Regions from separate parts of the Homo sapiens genome. Here region 1 is linked to region 2. Evidence: promoter capture Hi-C in human tissues and cell types (Jung and others, 2019). All regions are on one chromosome and are shown on one strand. The core of a region is centred on a gene start or on the middle of the fragment in contact, and the rest is flanking DNA. Distances in the headings are between cores, read along the strand shown.

Evidence for each region. Contacts are between HindIII fragments. The study calls those that stand out against the background at their distance.
Region 1: a fragment that was not itself captured here is called in contact with the fragment with the promoter of NR5A1 in region 2 in 1 of the 25 tissues and cell types used here (H1 embryonic stem cells).

What each region holds. Positions count from the first base shown.
Region 1 is chr9:124,692,172-124,696,189 of GRCh38, reverse strand. The region is part of intron 2 of NR6A1 (nuclear receptor subfamily 6 group A member 1); the gene reads left to right. All of the region lies in intron 1 of MIR181A2HG (MIR181A2 host gene), which reads right to left. MIR181A2 (microRNA 181a-2) reads right to left here and starts at 3,748; the gene lies at 3,639-3,748. MIR181B2 (microRNA 181b-2) reads right to left here and starts at 2,480; the gene lies at 2,392-2,480. RefSeq lists an enhancer at 623-1,168. The HindIII fragment of the contact is 6,533 bases long and covers 1-4,018 here.
Region 2 is chr9:124,505,651-124,509,570 of GRCh38, reverse strand. It overlaps NR5A1 (nuclear receptor subfamily 5 group A member 1), which reads left to right and starts at 2,172. Exons shown (of 7, transcript NM_004959.5): 1 at 2,172-2,322. RefSeq lists a cis regulatory region at 2,090-2,095, promoters at 2,077-2,221, 2,092-2,415 and an enhancer at 1,186-3,920. The HindIII fragment of the contact is 26,734 bases long and covers 1-3,920 here.

The DNA.
Region 1 (4,018 bases), core at 1,513-4,012, 190 kb before region 2:
CGGCTCTCTGTTGGACTAATTGACTTTGCGCCTTGCTCACAAGTCCTTCTGTAATATGTCCTTTTACCTTTTCAGTGCCATTCCTTATGACTCCCTAATACAGTCTCTGGACTATTCTCTTCCTGTCCCCTATACATGCCATGTAATTTTTCTGTTACAGGTATTTATTTTGAGGCCTATCTGCAGAAAACACCCTTTAACTTACATAATTGTCTCCCTTCTTGTAGTACTTAGTTTTATCCAAGAGAAAACTTGGATTTGGTTTAATGAAATATATAATTGTTTCATTGGCATATTTAAAGACTATGTAATAGTCTGTAAATAAATAGCATGCTTGTTCAAGTGTACATTTTTCAAAGTACGTGTCAGACATTCTTTTCTAATGTTTTCAGAAATTTTGGAAATAATTGGTTAAAAATAAATGCCTAGAATGCACAGCATCTTGAAAAACAAGACTGCGTGGAGTACCTTCTGTGTGTCTACCAGTCTCACAAAAAACTCTTCTATAAAGACCCCCTCGGGCCGGGCGCGGTGACTCATGCCTATAATCCCAGCAATTTGGGCGGCCGAGGCGGGCGGATCACTTGAGGTCAGGAGTCTGAGACCAGCCTGGCCAACATGGCTCTACTAAAAACACATTTCTTCTAAAAACACAAAAATTGACTGGGTGTGGTGGCGGGCCAGCTACTTGAGAGGCTGAGGCACGAGAATCACTTGAACCCAGGAAGCAGAGGTTGCAGTGAGCCGAGATCGCATCACTGTACTCCAGCCTGGGAAACAGAGCAAGACTGTCTCAAAAAAACAAACAAACGAAAGAAAAACACACACAAAAAAACCTTTTGGTAATTTCTTTGGGTAGGTTTTAGTTTTTTAGATAGCGTAAATCCAAATCCATTCATTTCCATAAAACATCAGACACAATTTGATGTATATTTGGCCACCAAACATGGTGCAAAATTTTATGTAGTCTGGAGATACTTAAAAGCAGCACAAATGTGACTCTACCTGTCTGCACTCAGCAGAATAGTGGCGATTTCAGGTGGTGACACAAAAGGTTGGGCAATAGTTGAAAAGTGGATGACATGAAATGTGGTGGTGGGATGGGGGCAGGAAGCCGATGTTAAGCTAGTGAACTTTATTTACTTTGCTTCCAGCTTCCAGTGACCCAAAATCACCTCGTCTAGAGTAGGGCTCAGGAATTTGCCATTTTAAAAGCAACTCTAGATGATTCTGGTGTACAAGAAGTTTGGGAAACACTGGCTTGAACCTGATATTTTCTCTGAACTCTCATAGTTTTCTTTAGATTTTTCTTTTGGCTTTGATTTCTCTTTCTGGTTCTTGTCTCATTACCCCATCACTTCTCCTTCCTAATTTGACAGGAAAGCCTTGTCAAATTAAGGCTTGCTTAATTGTCAAGGCTAATTTGACAAGACTCTTCTCTTACTGTCTTATTTGACTTTTGCTATGAGAATCTGCTTCTTCTTAGACTTAAGTGTATGATAAATTATTCATGACCAAGGGCCTTGTTTTTCTTTCTTTAACATGGGATTTAGTGGCTTATCTCATGTTACAGGATTTAGAGAGTTGATACTACATTTAAATTTTTTGTTAAGAAAAATGTACATCTTCTATCTCACTTAGGTGTTTTTCCTGTTTGAGGGACATGGTTTGCAAAGGTTAGAATGAATGAGCCTCATAGTTTTTGTCAAAAGAGAATATTGATGTACATCTGAATAATAACCAGAACATTCATATTAAGTCATACTATATAGCCATTTAAAAGAATGACGAGTACATAAAAGACTGTTGTGGAAGTCTATGATATATAGCTGAATAACAAAATAGATTATAGAACAATAGGTAAAAATGAGCTTATTTTTGTCTAAGCCACTCTCCCCCCAAAACATGCAAAATTACAGCTATTTATCTGTGTATGTATGGATAAAGGTCTTCAAGGATATAAAATAAATTCTAGTTATGATATTTATTATCTTAATAAGTTTATTATAATTATACATGTTTTCCTCCGAGGAAATGGATTGCAGATGATGATTGAAGGGATTTTCAATTTTTACTTTGTATATTTTTGTATTTGAATTTCTAAATAATAAGCATATGATTCTGTTTAGAAATTCTGAATGTACTGATTTTTAAAATGTGATGTGATATCCAGATATGTATTTAATTCTTCCTATAAAATATCATTTCCTTAAATCTAGACTATTGAAAAAGGAGAAAAGTACTAGGAATTTAGAGAACTTACTCCATGTTAGAACCAAGGAGAACAAGAAAAGCTTTAGCTAGTGTTTTGGAAATAGTAGCAGCTCCCACTCACAGCAGTAGCTGCTGCACTCAGGCGACTCTCTGCACATGCTTTTGCTTCCTTTGGGTTGTTTGGTCCGCAGTTTGCATTCATTGATCAGTGAGTTGATTCAGACTCAAACCCACCGACAGCAATGAATGTTGAGTGCAGCCATCAGTGTTTTCAGTTGGTGGGGTTGCCTTTGCCCTCCCTGGCTGACTCCTGGCTCTTCTTTTCCATCTCAGTTCTTTGAAGTCTGTGTGTCTGGCTTCTCCCTTAGTAACCAGCCATCTGCATGATTGAGGGCCCACACAGGTGTCCATAACATTGACATTGGAGCTGGGAGGTTATTGCAGATGAGGAAGCTGTGGTTCAGAGAAGGAAGGAGTGCTTGGAGAACCTCACAGGTAGCACTGCGCCACACAGGCAGTGCTTGCATATTAGTACCTGTAAACCACAGCTGAGGGACCTGCTTTTCCTCTTTGTTTTGAACTGAGAAGTATGAGTGCTTTTTTGAGGTAAATTAGCAGATTATGTTGGAGTTTAATAATAACAGCTTACATATATTGAGCATTTGCTGTGGGCTAGTAATGGTACAAAGCACCTTATATATTATCTCATTGAGTCTCAAAACTCCATGATAGGTACTCTTAGCCTCTGTTTTATATGTGAGAAAACTGAGACACTTGCTTAGGGGGTCAAATAACTAGTTAAGGGCTTGAGCCAAGATTCATCCCAGATCTGACTGACTCCAGGGCTAAGTTTTTGCTTGAATTTAGCAAACATTTAAATAAGCATATGTGGGGATATGTGGGCACTAGTAAGGCAATAGCTCATGCTCTAACTGGGATATCAAAAATTAACCATATTAACTATAATTCAAAGTGAAATGTGATAAGAACTGTCACAATTGGATAATTTTGTGCTATTTTTGCTTATTAAATCCTCCCCTTGCCCCTAATTAAAAATTTTGAGAGGATGTGGGAGAAATGGGAGTAATTATTTAACTGGATTTTATTCCAAAACAAAATACGTATTTTTAATAAATTTTTACTTGCTACGTCCTGTTTCTCACCAGAATGGTGCATATCTAGGAGACATGTAGGTACATTAGATATCATCATGGACTGCTCCTTACCTTGTTGAAATGAAACACTTTTTTTGTAAAAACAAACAAATAATAATAAAACACACAACAGAAAGCAAGGAACAGTGAGCAGTAGGAATAAAATTCACTGGACCACATTTGGGGGATTGCAGGACCATTTCTGGTGAACTCATGTGACATGTGAAGGTACAGCTTGCTCTTTTGCTTCAGGAAATGTAGTGTCGTCTGTAAGGACCCCAAGGTACAGTCAACGGTCAGTGGTTTTTTCAAATCCCAAACTCACCGACAGCGTTGAATGTTCCTTGGAGTCCTCTGAAGGCTGGCCTGATAGCCCTTCTTCATTCTCCCATCCACATCCCAAGAACCAGTGAGCAGTGAGACCACCGCTGATGGATGCTCTTACATTCCTCTCTGGGTTTCAAGTCGAGAGTATTTAAATTATAAAATCAATTTGTGTGCAGCAGAGAACTAATGAACTGTGGGATAGACTGTGCAGTAATTTGTACAAGCAGACTCAAATGAATGTCTGAGAAAATGTCTTTGAATGGTATTATTTTGTGATTCTAAAAATGTAAAATACCTGATTTTGCAGTAGTATTTTAATTGTT
Region 2 (3,920 bases), core at 923-3,422:
ATTCAGGAGACTGAGGGAGGAGGATTGCTTGAGCCCAGGAGGTCGAGGCTACAGTGAGCTATGATGGTACCACTGCACTCCAGTCTGAGTAACAGAGCAAGACCCTGTCTCAAAAGACATAAAACAAAATAGGGACACTAAAAAAAGAATATTAAAATAGGGAGACTAGTTAGGTTCAGCCATATGCAAGAGAAGTATATCTTGTAAGAACTTCTCTAGGTGAAAAAGACATAATTACAAGGTCATGCACATTGAGGAATAAGTTGTCTGTTACGTTGTAGGTGGAATATATTCGATCAGTTAGCTATGACTGTTGGTGAAATTATATTATAAAAATTATTATTATTGAATTAATGATTATTAATTATTAAAACCCTATTGCCCGGGCTAGAGTGCAGTGGCACAATCATAGCTCACTGCAGCTCCAACTCCTGGGTTCAAACCATCCTCCTGCCTCAGCCTCCCGAGTAGCCGGGACTACAGTCTATCAGTATTATTGTTGTATGTTCACACACAATTTTAAGTGGCATAATGAGGAAAACACACACTAGGTTTTATTTTATTTTATTTTATTTTATTTTATTTTATTTTATTTTATTTGAGACGGAGTCTCACTCTGTCGCCCAGGCTGGACTGCAGTAGCACAATCTTGGCTCACTGCAACCTCTGCCTCCCAGGTTCAAGCGATCCTCCTGCCTCAGCTTCCCAAGTAGCTGGGACTACAGGCACAAGCCACCACACCAGGTGAATTTTTCTATTTTTTAGTAGAGATGGCGTTTTGCCATGTTGGCCAGGCTTGTCTTGAACTTCTTGACCTCAGGTGATCCGCCCACCTTGGCCTCCCAAAGTGCTGGGATTACAGGCATGAGCCACAGTGACTGGCTGGAAAACACATAGGTTTTAAATATAGTTGGCGTTTCTACTTTTTCAGTGGCCTTCCATGAAAAAATATATATAGGGAGAGTTGGCTTCACTTCACTTATCCAGAAAAGTCCCTCTTGTTCCAGATAAGTGAGGTGTTGGGTGTGATTTATTTATTTCCTCCAATGAAGGGATATGTGGGAGGAGGGGTGGTTCTCAACAGTGACTGCCCCATAGTCACCCTGTGCCCCTCCCTGCTCTCCCAAGATGAAAGGCACGGAGGTAAATCCTCTGAGGACAGAGACTTTTCTTCTCTTTCCTATGGGATCCCTGGTGCCTGGAACAGTGCCTGACCCCTAAGTGTGCGCTCAGTAAATGTGAGACAAACAGAGGAACACACAAAAGATCCAGTCACCGTGGGAGCGGCACAACACCCTGCAACCCGGGCCCTACAGGAACAGGATATTTCAGAGCCCATCTGGGCCCAGAGATTGGATGGGGACGTCCCAGGTTGTCTAGGGAGGCCTAGCCTTCTAGATAAGGGCCCCTTCCTGCTACCCTGTCCTATCCTGGACTAGCTTCATACTTGGTTCAACCTGGGGCCACTATAGCCACCACTTGGCCTCAGAGGCAGTCTCAGCCCAGCCTCAGTTTTTCCAGCCATCGACTGGGAACATCAGCAGCCCACAGCAGATGAGGACATTCAGAGGCCACCGTGGCATGCACGCACCAGGTGTCCAGGCCGCTCACCTGCTCCCCTTCCGGCCCCCCTCTTCTTCCACCTGATGGAAGAGGAAAAAGAGGTGGAAGCAGCAGGCCGCCTAGTCAAGTCGCCATGGCCTTGCCTCCGCACTGGCCTGTCCTGACTCTACTCCAATGTCCGGGCTGGGCCAGACCATGCCAGGCCAGGCCCCAGGGAGGTAGCCATTCACAAGGAGAGAGGAGCAGGCGGCAGGCCGGGTGGGGGAGCAGCCCATAAATCAAGCCCCACTCCCACCCGGTTTCTAACAAGCGGGGCTGCCTACCCGCCTCTGTGGGGTCCCTGCCTCTGGGCTCCCACAGCGGGCCTGGAACAGCCAGCTGGCCAAGGCCTCTGCAGTGCCTTGGCCTCCGCCCCCACCCTCAGCCCCCAGATAGATAGGGGTATTTTTTTTCTTTTAGGAGAAGAAGAAAAAATAGACGTAAATGAAGAGAAACACCAACAAAGAAGGCGAGAGGCCTGCAGAGTCACGTGGGGGCAGAGACCAATTGGGCCTCCGGTGGCCCCCCCACCAGGGCGGGGAGGAGGAGGAGGACGGACGGACAGGGCCAGCCTGCTGTCCGGCTGCCGCCCGCCGTGGTGTGAGGGGGTTTCTGCGCACCCACAGTCGCCACCGTCCCACCTGGGCTGCCGGAGCCTCCCCCTGGACCCCTGGTGCCCACTGCCACCCTCATCCGGTGTGAGAGCGCTGCTTCCGCTTCGTAAGTGAGGGCCTTGGCCCAGGCCTCTAATGGCCAGCCTCCTTCTGCAGTGCCTCCCTGCAGCCTGGGCCGGCCACTGCCTGCTCCACTTAGTGACCGGTGCCCCCTGCTCTGGGCAGGGAAGGTGCCAGGGGTCTCCCAGACTCACCCTCCCACCATGCTACCCCCTCTTCTTCCCTGGGCTGCCGATGGGAGGAGCCAGGCCTGTGACCACAAGCCCCATGGAGGTCCGCTGGTGTCCCGCTGTCTCTGGCCAGGCATCCACCAGGCTGTGTGGGTCTGAGCCTAGAGGTCTGTGAGTGTGTCTGGAGGGCTCTGGGCCTGTCTTGGGGCTCTGTCCCCCACCTGAGTTTCTGTGTTGTCTCTGTGGCTCTCTCTGAGTCTTGCTGTGTATCCGTGTGTCTGTCTCCGGCATCCATCTGTCAGCCTGGGTTCTGCGGCCGGGCCAGGTCTAGGCTTCCCTCCCTGGGTGGGTGGATGAGGGGCTGGAACTCCCCAGGCGGTGGGCTGGAACCTGGAACCTGTGGGGGTGGGTGCCTCGGAGCCTGGAGTGCAGAGGAGCCATGGGCTTCCAGCCGGTGAGAGTAGAAACCCTTGGGGAGAGGGGATTGGAGATAGAGGGAGAAGGGCCTGAGCCCAGCCCCCACCCAACCCCGGCGGCTGGGGCCTGTGTGTCCAGCTCCAGGTTTCCAGGAGACCTCGGGTGAGCTCTACCTTAGAACAGCCAACTGGGGCACCCCAGCCCATCATCCACCAACCCCCTTCCCTCCTGCAGTCACTGTCTGAGGGCTCCATTGTGGTGGGGAGCTGTTCAGAGGCGGCAGTGACCCCCACCTCCAGCTCGGGCAGATGCTCTTGTTTCTCAGGGGTTTGGGGGTGCGGGGGGTACGATTAACAGGGTCTCTGGCTCTTTCTTCCCTCCTCATCCAAGATTCTTGCATGGAAACCGCAGTACCCCATCTGTAAAGCCAACATGTTCCACTTTATGCTCGGAGAAAACTGAGGCTCTCGTTTCAGAGAGGAGAAGTGACTTGCCCGAGCTTGCACAGCTAGTCTGCGGGTTCTGCTCCTTCTGTGGGTGAGCCAGCTGAGTGCGGTCTGCGCGGGGGGTTCTCTGGCCACAACTTGCAGGCCCCAGGCCCAGCTCCAACCGAAGCCCGAGGCCTCCAGGCGGGCGGGAGCCCAGATGGAGCCTTTTGGTGGGTTGCGCCGCTGTCAATGCAAAATTGCGGTATTTTCCTGCTTGAAGATCGCAGCTTTTTGGCCTCATGGTCCCCAAACTCTCTCTGACCCCAGGTGCCAGCGGGGGCGGAGGCAGGATGCAAGCAGGCCCCTTCCTTTCGGGTCCGTTTCTCCAGCTGAAAAACAGTGGCCCCGCGGATGGTCCCTAGCCCAGAGCAACTGCTTGGCCCATAGGCCCGGGAACCCCTTTGTCCCCAAGACCGCCCAGCGCTTTCTTCCTCGCCCCACCCCCCCGTGAGAGCTCCGAGGGGAGCAGCGGGGCCCTGCCTCCGGGCTCCTCTCCCAGCTCCTGCGCCCGTAGAGGCTTCGGGTCCCCCCAGGCCTCGGACATTTGTAAAATGGGATTTCCACGAGTC